Regions from separate parts of the Homo sapiens genome. Here region 1 is linked to region 2. Evidence: promoter capture Hi-C in human tissues and cell types (Jung and others, 2019). All regions are on one chromosome and are shown on one strand. The core of a region is centred on a gene start or on the middle of the fragment in contact, and the rest is flanking DNA. Distances in the headings are between cores, read along the strand shown.

What was found. The method cuts DNA at HindIII sites, captures the fragments that hold promoters and counts their contacts. A contact is called where the count stands out against the background at its distance.
Region 1: a fragment that was not itself captured here is called in contact with the fragment with the promoter of ULK1 in region 2 in 1 of the 25 tissues and cell types used here (H1 embryonic stem cells).

The regions. Positions count from the first base shown.
Region 1 is chr12:131,721,704-131,727,337 of GRCh38, reverse strand. It overlaps SFSWAP (splicing factor SWAP), which reads right to left. Exons shown (of 18, transcript NM_004592.4): 5 at 1,708-1,933; 6 at 286-398. Among named protein-coding and RNA genes, the nearest start is that of SFSWAP, 13 kb to the right of the region's middle. The HindIII fragment of the contact is 4,275 bases long and covers 768-5,042 here.
Region 2 is chr12:131,892,367-131,898,481 of GRCh38, reverse strand. It overlaps ULK1 (unc-51 like autophagy activating kinase 1), which reads right to left and starts at 3,860. Exons shown (of 28, transcript NM_003565.4): 1 at 3,370-3,860; 2 at 2,789-2,881; 3 at 2,658-2,699. The coding sequence starts at 3,480. LOC124903059 (a long non-coding RNA gene) reads left to right here and starts at 4,324. Exons shown (of 2, transcript XR_007063538.1): 1 at 4,324-4,635; 2 at 4,907-5,424. RefSeq lists an enhancer at 879-1,676 and silencers at 2,044-2,103, 2,134-2,193, 2,164-2,458, 3,601-4,110, 4,141-4,190 and 1 more. The HindIII fragment of the contact is 30,695 bases long and covers 1-6,115 here.

The sequences.
Region 1 (5,634 bases), core at 1,656-4,155, 170 kb after region 2:
ACACTCTACTTGGAACTCTAAATATCTCAAAGGAGTAAAATTGTAATAAAATGGTAAAATTATCCTGAGCAAATGCTCACGAATTTTATAAGCTAGACAGGTAAGAAACCAAAGAAGCAGATGCTTTGTCACCCAGCTAAAAACAAAAATGCAAATACACCTCAATGATGATAAAATAAGATACAACTGTAACACACAAGAATGACATGCTTCAAATTTTCCAAAATTACATTAGCAGAAGTTTTGTGGTGGCATAAAAATATAGTTCAACAATGAGATAAAAACCTTCATCAGCTCTTCAAGGCGGTTACACTTCTTGGAGGCAAAGAGAGAGGGATGAAGGTAATTCCCATCTTCTTCATCATCATCATCTTCATTGTCAGAGCTGACTCCTGATTCTGAAATCAAAATCACATTTCAAGATTTTGGTGTTTGGTGAGAAAAAAAGTACAAATTAATTATGCAAAAACTTAGAAGCAGCCAAGTTATCTTGGTTATCTGTCGAAAAAACACTTTTAGAAATTTCTCCCTAGAGTCACCCAAGTTGTCCAGAAGAAGGCCAGATAAAAAGGATTGCGACCTTTGCCCATTTGGTGACTCCTTGCCAGCATCGAGCACCAGCTGGTCTGGGGCTCTGTATGCTTTCTTTCTCTCTGCCTTTTTTTTCCTTTTTTTAAAAAAGGGCAAAAATTGTACTGATTTATGAAAAGCAAAATAATAGCAACAGAAATAAACAACTACAACAAAACTGAAGATGAGATCTGCATTAAGATTTACACAACTGATTTGAAACTTATTTTGGCTGAAGAGAACAGAATTCAGTGGAAGGGCCGGGCACAGTGGCTCACGCCTGTAATCCCAGCACTCTGGGAGGCCGAGGCGGGTGGATCACCTGAGGTCAGGAGTTTGAGACCAGCCTGGCCAACATGGTGAAACCTTGTCTCTACTAAAAATACAAAAATTAGCCGGGCGTGGTGGCACGTGCCCACGATCCCAGCTACTCGGGAGGCTGAGGCATGAGAATTGCTTGAACCCGGGAGGCGGAGGTTGCAGTAAGCCAAGATCGCGCTCACGCCATTGCACTCCAGCCTGGGCGACAAGAGCGAGACTCTGTCGCCAATTAAAAAAAAAAAAATTCAATGGAAGATGTGTGTGTGTGTGTATATATATACATATATATGAATAGACTTGTCAAAATACCATCTTTATTCAAAATACAGCTAACTGGCTTTGGCAGTAAGAACTCCAAAATAGAGACACTGTTATAAAAATAATAGCTTAAAATAGATAATCCAAGTAAAATTTTCACTTTTGTGGCCATGTATAATTGAGCTATACAGCCCTGAACACTGTGGTACTTGAATAATCCAAGAGAGGATATATAACTGTTTTCTCTATGAAATGTTAAGTGGGCAAAATGAGGGCAAAAATTTCCCACCCAGATGATTATGTTCTGACAGCATCAATATTTAGTTATATTTCATTTATCTATAAAATATTAACCAAAGATTTAATAAAGGTGCACCAGCAGGGGTAACGATCACGCCTTAGCTGCAGGATTTCAGACACATTCTAGAAATTCGAGTCTGGCTTTCAACCATGCATCTGTAAGAATGTGTATCTTCACACTTTTCCCAGAACCACCCAGCCTGCCGCCCCCACAACACAGGCCCAAAGTCTGGACGGAACAGACGCAGTGGGACCTACTTTTTTTCTCGTCACTTTTGTTTTCTGCCAGGACAGTGTAGCGTCCCTCTTTCATGGCTTTCTGGATGAACTTATAGTAGGGGTTGAGGTAGTGGTCGAAGCGCAGAAAGTCAAACTGGGAGTTCCGGGCCTGCTTGGCCTTCAGCATGATCTCAAACTGTGCTCCCTGCCTGCACACGAAGCTGGCCGTGCGCTCGATGATGGCGTGCATTTTAGCGGTTGGTGGCTACGGGAAAACACACATATTCACGTCACCCATTTGTCCTCTTGTCCACCGGCCACGTGATTTCATTAAAACATAGAAATGACTCTGGTTTTACTGTCAATTTTAAGAGATACGAGACTTTAAGCTGGAAGAGCCCAGGCTGTTCGGACTCCTCATCTCCAAATCTTGACAGGATTTTGCAGGGGAGAAAGCTCGCCAGCTGAGGCAGGCCACTCCACCATGGTACAGACCCATGGGAGGTGACTTCTTTGTGCACCAAGTCAACATTTTTCTATATATTTAAGTTCAGCTCTATGATGGAATTCAGGGGGTTTGTGAATCCTCTGTGCATGTGAATTTTACAAACAAGCACTTTTCTAGGGAGAGGGTATACATTCCATGGTTCTCAATAACCAGAATCACTGCTCTTTCCTTCTTCTTAGCGGGGACTAGGTTTCACAGCTTGGAGGCTCCCTCTTACAAAACAGCCCTTCTGGACATCCAACAAAAGCCACAAGAGTACGCCATGTCTTTTCTTCTGCACCTGAGCCCTGCTCCCCAGCCCCTGCACAGTTCCTGGCTCACTGCCATTCCCACTTAAAAGCAGTATCCCAAGCTGAAGACCACCTAGGTGTGGTCTGGCCAGAGCAGATGGGACACTCCAGGTGAGTTTCTTCCCAGCATCAAAGCCCTCCCCCATCCCTTCATGTGCTGCTAAGGAGTCACTTCAACGAACCTCATGCTCTTAGCATTTCCTGCCCACAAATGGATCTTGTTAGACCAAAGGCTGAAAGCCACACATCTAAAATACCTTTCATATCAACAAAGAGATTAACACTAGGAAATTATTTGCAAATAAATCTGGCAATTATTCTCATTAAAAATGGATGGTTAAGAATTCAGGGCTTCATCCTTCATAAAATATAAATGGCTTAATTCTCTAATTTAATTTTTGAACTAATAACATCCTTCACACTTAAAAAGGATAGATGTCTACAATTATTCATTAATCCCCAAATAATTTAAATTCCATGTTAAAGGCCCACTGTATGCATGTCCACGACTTGGATTTTCAGGGGCTCTGGTTATTCATTGTTAAAACAGAATATTCCATAAACACATCAATAATTAATGATCACTTCATAGTAATGACCCTTAAAGGAAAATATGATACTGGCCCAGTTTAGGCTTTCTTTATTGACCAAACCAACTTGTTGATCCAAAATTTCTTAAAAGTAGGCCTATTTGTTATATACTACTTCTATTACCATGGTTAAAAAGCAATGTGTAAGTAATTTTACAAAAAAACAAAGCATCTTACGGACATATTTCAAGGTTGGCTACCAACCCTGAATAAGATTAAAAAGTATCTGGTTTGGAAAAAGCCATTCTTTACTTTATTAGGCAGACTTTAGGTAAATCATTTTCCATTTAAGAATATCATGATCACTCCTACTACACAATGAGATTTAAAAAATACAGTCAACATATAAATATGCATATGTTACAATGGCCTAAGAAAAGGAAAACTGTTTTTCTAATTTAAATCCAGTGGGGAAGCCTTTTGTTTAAGGAAGCCGACAGAGCCCCGGAAGGGGGCTAACACCTCCTCCCCTTCCCTGGAAATTCCATTAATGTGAATTTAAGCTCCAGAGGAGGCATGGGAAACAGGAGAAAGGTATCTACAGGTCAGAAAACCCACACAAATGCACGGTTTCCTAAGAGCTTTGGAAAAGGCTTGAGCTCAGACCCATCGGGGGACCAGGAAGGAGGTGGCATGACATGAAGAGGGGAAATTAGCAAGGAACCCCAGGGGCAGTGGGGCCAGCCCTCTCCTCACGGGGTTAGGGGAGAAAAAAAATCAAATACCTGCTTTGCCCAGAGCCCTAAGTAAGTATCAGATTGAGTCAAAATTCAAAGGCAAAAATACAAATACAGAAGTACCAGCAGTAAATATAGGAAAATATTTTCAAACTCTTGTGGGTGGGAAGCCTTCCAAAATAAGCTTTAAAATTCTGAAGCCATAAGGAATAGAGGGACATATATCACTCTATACTTAAATTCTGCACAGAGAGTCGTACAATCACTTAGAAAACAAAGTGCGGGGAGAAAATACCTGCAAGACACATTGGGGACCAAGAGTTAAGGCTCATTAGACGTCAAGAGTCCTTACGAATCTGAACAAAAGGCCAGTCACTCCACAGTAATTCAAGAATAAATCAACATTTTTTCCCTCCCCACCCACCTTCTGTGACAATACAGTACCTAAATTATGATGAAATAATGCTCTAATCTGCACAAATTCGATAAAGCTTAACTTTAGTGGTTCAGAGCTCTGGAGTCGGTCCCTTGGCTAGAACCCCAGGCCTGACCCTCACACATGTAACTTAGGGCAGTTACTCTTAACTTTCTAAACTTTAACATCTGGCAACAACTGTATTTGCTTCATAGAGTTATTTTTGTATTTTTATTTTTTTGAGACAGGATCTGGCTCTGTTGTCTAGGCTGGAGTGCAGCAGTACCGTATTAGCTCACTACAACCTCCACCTCCAGGGCTCAAACCATCCTCCCGCCTTGGCCTCCTGAGTAGCTGAGACTACAGGCATGTACCACCACGCCTGGCTAATTTTTTTCATTTTTTGTAGAGGCGGAGTTTCACCATGTTGCCCAGGCTGGTCTTGAACTCCTGGGCTCAAGCGATTCTCCCACCTCGGCCTCCCAAAGTGCTGGGATCACAGACATGAGCCGCTGCACCTGGCCTGTAAAATTATTTTGAGTATTAACTGAGAGATATGCCTAGAGAAGCACTTAGTACACTGTCTGGTACACAGTAAGTGCTTCATAAAGGCTGGTTCTATGTTATTATTCATCAACAGAATAAGCGTTGCACACAACAGCAACTATCGAATCCTTCCCCACTTTCCATAAAATGTGTTCGAGCAAGCACATTTCCCTTGGAACTGCGCCCTAACAGGTCTGGGACTACAGGCACGTGCCACCACACTGGCCTATTATTTTTACTTGTTTGTAGAGACAGGATCTCACTATGTTGCCCAGGCTAGTCTTGAACTCCTGGCCTCAAGTGATCCTCCAACCTTAGTCTCCCAAAGAGCTGGGATTACAGGTGTGAGCCACTGTACCCAGCCTGGGGTGCTGTAATTTCTAACTACTTCTTACTCTTCATCCAAAAGCCTCAAGGATCCTGTCATCATTAGGTTCTAAACCAACAGTTAGTTTAAAAACCAAGAACCTCCTGAAGTACCTGCTGTCTTTCCCAATCACTCCAATCTTCTCTTGTCAGTGAGTCAAACCATGTCCTGCCCCCTTAAGCAGCAATAGTCTACTTAACCACAATTCAACAATTCTGAGGCCTAGTCACTAAAACAACTTATAATGCAGACACTTCTGTCTTCTACATTTTCTCCACTAACATGGACACCACGGTGTATAATTTACACAATGAATTACTGCCAAAAAACACATAATAATTATGAGAATGAAATACTGACACTGCCATAAAATAAATGAAAGACGCAAATGAGAGACTCAATCAAGCACTCAGTTTCCACAAAGTCAAAACAACATTCAAGAGGCCTTTCTATAATATCATTAGAAGAAACTCTAATGATAAGACAGCAAGTTGCTACACACTAAGACTTACTTTGCTCTCCAATGAGTGACAAGTATGTTTGATCTGGCAGACTATCAAGAGCTTAGTGATG
Region 2 (6,115 bases), core at 2,611-5,110:
TTTCTACTTCTCACATGAGCCACGATGGAAACCTCTGAGAGCCACCCTCCTGGCAAGGACCTAGGGAGACACATGCTTGGAGACAGGCTGAGAGACCAGTGGCATTGCCTCTCCGGAGGTCCATTTGGCAATAGCTACCCAAATTAAAAACCAGCATCCCTCCTACCCAAGGATTCTACTTCTAAGGATCCAGTCACAACCACCCTGATGTACCAGCATCCCAAAATAACCTCATGTCCCACCTACAGGGCCTTGGTGAAATCAGTTATGGAATCTCGGGCAACAGGCACGCCATGGCTGAAAATCACCACGGCAGACCCAATCAGGCCAGCAGCTAGCACCTCCACGATGGCTCCTCCAACCCGAGAGCACTCCCTCCTCCCTCACACAGCCCTCACAGCCCGTGCTTTCTGCTTCACAGAGGAAGAAATAGGACCGCAAACTAAAGAAGCTGTGTGTGCACATATGGCAGCCAGGACTGGGCCCCTCATCAGCGTCAGCCTGGCTCTCGACCACTGTGCTTACAGATGGTGACCTCTAACAGAGAGGGGTAAACTTTTTGAGGGTTTTGTTTTGTGTTTTTGAGACAGGGTTACACTCTGCTGCCCAGGCTGGAACGCGGTGGCAACATCACGGCTCACTGCAGCCTTAAACTCCTGGGTTTAATCAATCCTCCTACAACCTTTATAGTAGCTGAGACATGCCACTATGCCTGGCTAATTTTTTTTCTTTTTTTTTCTTTTTTTTAGAGAGAGCGAGTCTTGCTATGTTGCCCAGGCTGGTCTGTCTTGGCCTCCCACAGTGCTAGGGTCACAGGTGTGATCCACTGTGCCTGGCCGAGGGGTAAACTTTCTGATATGGATTGAGCCAGCACAGAACCTTCCCCAAGCTCTACTCTTTTAGAGACAGGGCCTCGCTCAGTCGCCCAGGCTGGATGGAGTGCAAACTATACTCTTAAGTGACAAAATTCACGGCGCAGAGAGGTGGGTGTGGCGGGGAAGGACACCGGTGAACACATCGCCTTGTAAGGATGGCTGTCCCCGGTGGCCCGGAAACAACTAAAGCAGGGGCCTGAGAACGGAGGGCAGCGGGACTCGATCGGGGGCAGGACTCTAGCCTCGACCGCACTCCCTCCCGTAATGTTTGAGGATTTTCTTTTATCACCCAAATCGTTCATTGTCCATTTTTAAAACCCAGTTATTTTTTCCTGGGTTTGGGTGCCTGCCTCAAACATTGCCTTACCGACACAGGGCAACAATCCCCACGCCTGTGGGGGCGAGGGCAGGCTAAGCTGCAGCTCCAGCAGAGCCCGGTGCCCGGAGACAGGAGCGCCTGCAGCTGGCGGCTCCAAGTGCTTCCTGAGTAGAGAAAGCCGCAGAGTTGCCAACACTGGAGGAAGTGGCAGATGCCCACAACCAGGTGTGTGTGGCTGACTGGGATGGAGCTGGGCCTGGGGATACTGGTCCCGGGTCTGCGGGGGTCGTGCGGACAGTCACAGGGCCTGGCCTGGAGATGCCCAGGACTGGACCTGGGGAGCCCTGGAGGGGAGCAGCAGGCAGTGTAGCCCAGGGTGGAGGGGGAGTCCCTCAGAGTCGCTGCCTGGCCAGGGACAGCTGTCCACTCCTTGCTGGCTCCCAGAGCCATGACGCATGTGCAGGCTGTGGTCCAGGCAGGAGGCTTCCAAACATGGAGAGGATGAGGAAAGAGGAGGAAGGGAGGGAGGAAAGCAGGGAGAAAAGGGGTGGGAAGAGGGCGGGAAAAGCAGCAGGAGGGATGGCCCAGCTCCAGGACACAGTGTGCCTGGGTTTCCAGGTACTCGCTGGACCTGGGCCCCCCCCACCCGGCACCTTGTGACAAGCCTCGGTCCCCAAGGCCACAGCAAAGCTCTGAGAGGCGGACGGAGGAGGCCACCAAAACACGGCCTGCCAGCCCTTCCCTCAGCCAGGGGCTGGGCCCTGGGCTCAGTAAACAGGTCACAGAGCCATTAGTCAGCACTTTGGCGGGGCGGATCTCCCGCCTCAGGTTCCTGGTCCCCAGGACGGCACCCTGGCTCCCACAGCCCCAGCCCTGCCTGCCCTGGGCCCCGGGACACGGAGGCAGCACGAAAGCCAGCTGGTCCCACCGCTTGCTTCTTGGGGCCAGCCGGGCCCGAGGTCATCTCCTTGGCCAGCCAGCGGCAGCCGCCTGTGCCCCGGCCCGGCCCTGACTGCCAGCGAGCAGGAGTCTCCGGCGGCCCCTCCCCCGCCCCGTCTGACGCAGAGCGAGGCCGGCCAATGCCGGCCGCAGGAGCAATGTCAACAAACACACGGCCTAGACAGGTGGGCCAGGCCGGCAGTGCTGCCAGGGCCAGCCGGGGACGCCGGACTCAGGCAGGGCCCCTAGGACTGACGCCCGGCGGGGAGGGGATGCCTGTTCAGGAGAACTCAGCCCTGCCCTGGGGCGCCCTGCGGCCCAGACACCCCCTCCCCGGTCTCACAGCTGGGGAAGTCACAGCAAGAGCCAGCACCAGCCCAGGCCTGGACCCAGGGTGGAGTCTCCAGGGGCCCAGTAGACCCCAGCCTGGACAGGCTCAACACCAGTGCTCACCAGGGGATCCAGCACCTGGGGCCACAGTCCCCCAGCCCGGTCCCCAGCAGACCGCAGCCCAGAGGCCTTACCTGGAAGTCGTACAGGGCCACGATGTTTTCATGTTTCAGTTCCTAGGACAGAAACCCAAGTTTGTTATCAGTGTGGGGAGGGGGGCTTGCCCACGCCCACGCCCACGCCCCCTCCCCCAGCACTGGCTCACCTTCAGGATTTTGATTTCCTTCCCCAGCAGCGTCTGAGACTTGGCGAGGTTCTTCTTGTTAATGCACTTGACGGCGACCTCCAAATCGTGCTTCTGAAAGCCAAACGTGCACCTTCAAGGCCAGGGCTGCCCCTCGCAGGCCTCCCCCAGACCCCAGTCCACACAGGTGGGGCCCTGAGATGATCCCGGTTGGGAATCCCGGGACTGGAAGGCCGAGTGGGGAGCCAGGTTGAGGATCGCGCTGGGGGTCCTGGGGTAGGGATCCAGCCTCGAAAGCCGGCTGTGGGACCAGGTTGCGGGGTGTCCCGGGGTGAGGGTTTGGACAGGAAAGTCGGGCTGGGGGTCTCGGAGTGAGGATCTGGGCTGGAAAGCCCGGCAGCGGATCTCGGGGCGGGAGTCTGAACTGGAAAGTCGGGCTGGGGGTCGCGGGGTGGGGATCCTGGGGTGGGGGTCGGCCTGGAAAGTCGAGTGGGGCTCTCGGGAGGCGTGGGGGGGTCCCGGGACAGGCGGGGAATCTCGGGGCGGGGATGCAGGGGCAGGGGATCCTGGGCGGGGGATCCCGGGCCGGACGGGGGCCTCACCTCGCGGTGGCGGCCCTTGAAGACCACCGCGAAGGCGCCGTGGCCGATCAGGTCCTTGCGGGAGAACTCGAACTTGCCCACGGTCTCTGTGCCGCCGCGGCCGGGCTCCATGGCGCAGGCGGGCCGGGGGCGCGGGGCGGGGGGTGGCGGGCCAAGGCGCGGGGGACTCAGGCGGAGGCGCGGGCCGGGGCGGGCGGGCCGGGGGCGCGGGGCCGGGGGCGCGGGGCCGGGCGAGGGCGCATCTCCGGGGCCGCGCGCCCCATCGGGCAGGCCGGGGCCGGGTCCCAGCCCCGCGGGCCAGGCGGGGTCCGAGGGTCGCGCTCCCTCCGGCGCCTGTGCCACGGCACTCTTCCCGGGCTGCTAATCCGAATCCGGATCCGACTCCGACTCCGACTCCGGCTCCAACTAGGGCCCGGGCTCGGCCCCAACGGAGAAACAAAAGAGCCGCGGCGCCCGGGCCTCAGAGCCTGAGACGCCCGCGCAGCCGCACTGCGCGCCGGGCCGGGAGGCGGGATGAGGGCGGGGCCTGCGGGACGGAGCGGCAGAGCCGGGCGTGACGAACAGACGGGGGGCGGGGAATGGGGCGGGGCCTGTCGGGGGGGTGGGCGGCTGGGCCGGGCCATTGCGGGGCCGGGTGGGCTGGGAGTGGGTGGGGCCAACAGCGGACCCGCCCCGGTGAGAGCAGAGAGGCGCGCTGACCCGGGAGCGGGCCACGGGGCTCAGTGTTGATTCCTTGCCCCACTCCCTTCCACGCCCCTTCCCCGCCCCTTCCCCGCCCCGCTTCTTCTCTGCTCCCCTCCCTCCTTTCCCCTCTCTCCGTCCTCCTCCCTCCTTTTCCCCTTCCCATCACCTCTCTCCCTCCCTGCCCCCTCCCTTCCGCCCCCTCCCATGCCTTCCCCCCCGCTCCCCTCCCGCCCCCACTGCCTGTTCTCCTCCCTCCTGTCCCCCCTCCCTGTTCCCCTCCCTCCCCTTCCCTGTTCCCCTCCTTCCCGCTCCCTGTTCCCCTTCTACAGGAGAATGGAGAACAGGCGTGGGAAATGTTCCCAAAACGGGGGACTGCGCAGAATTAATTCTTAGAAATAGAATGGCTGAGTTAGAGGTTAGGCATTTAAAGTTGAGTTCCATAATGCCAAATTGCAAAAAAAAAAAAAAAAATTGTAGACCAAAAAGTTGTCACCCAAACCAACGACATAGCCCATAAATCCGCTGGGGAGGAAAGGTTAGCTAGATGGGCTGCGCATCGGTCCTGTGGAACACTGCACAGAGGTAAATATACCTGTGCTCAAGGGTGAGTTCTCCAAAGATTATAATTAAGTAAAAGCAAAATATGGAACAGGGCACTGTACTGTCTGTCGTTTTAAGAAAGCGGTAGGATTGGGATGTGTGTGTGTGTGAAACGCCTGTAATGTGTACATGGTCGTTCCTAACTATAATGACAGCTAACTCATCACTTAGGCCAAGCAGCGCACTTTCCAGCGATTAGTGCATCCATTCAATGATTCCACGAGGCACTTGCTGTTATGTCCCTGTTTTACAGATGAGGAAATCAAGGCGGAGAAAAGTTGGAGAATGTGTCCAAAGTCACACCGCCGGCAGCCAAAAGAGCCCGGGGGCTCACTCACAGAAGACACAGCCAACAGCGATTGCTCTGGGAGAGAGGACCGGGGAAAAGTTAGTGCTGTTCACCGTACACGTTGCGCGCTAGTTGGAATGGCTTTCACCACGTGCAAGCACTGCTTTTGCAAATGCATGATTCTAAACAATGCTCACCAACCCAGCCTTCAGTACAGTCCTAAAGTAACAGCCCAGAAACACACACTTCAGCCAGGACCCTCCATGCTGCCTCCCAGAGCAGCCCAGCAGCTGGACAGCCTGATGCCCTGGGCTGGATCAGCAAGTCCTGGATGCCTTTTACCTGCACCCAGCTCATCCTCCAGGCCGCAGGACACACAGACTCCCGACCCTGGACTGGGGGCCAGAAGCCACCGAGCTGGAAGGGACAAGAGGTCTCCTGGCCCACCATGTTTGTTTTCCCAATAAAGAGGTTCCACAGTGCCCCGTAGTCAGCCATAGCATTCACTCACATCCTGGAGTGCCTGCTGCACACCGGCCTGCCCAGAGAGCACACGCTGCGAGGTAAGTGCTGCAGTTGACACAGTGAGAACAAGACCCGCCTGCAGGAGCTCCCAGCGCTTAGGGGTGGGGGACAAGAAGAGCAAAGATTGCACCACCCGTGGCAAAATTGCAAGAGAAAAATGAGTGAACAGGTGGCTACGTGCTGAGGTGATCAGGGCAGACCGTGAGGGCCGAGATTGCTAGAGATGGCGAAGCCTGTACTCCTGGAAAGTACTCAGGGAACCCCAGCCCAGCCCACCCTGGCCTGGAAAGCCAAGCTAACGGGGTCTTCACCCCAAACTCAAAGAAATACCCAGGAAGAGTTTAGGAGAGGGTGGGATGGCAAGATGGGATTTGCATTTGGAAACCGTTACTAGGCCCACCGAGGAAGGACATGTTTCTTTTTTGTTTTGTGCGGTCTTATTAAATTTTTTATTCTTTTTATAACTTTTAGGTTCAGTGGTGTGTGGACAGGTTTGTTATACAGGTAAATTATGTTTCACAGGGTTTGATGAACGGATTATTTCATCACCCAGGTAATAAGCAGAGTACCCGATAAGTAGTTTTTTGATCCTCTCTCCCTCCTCCCACCCTCCCACCCTCAAGTGGGACCTGGTGTCTCTTGTTCCCT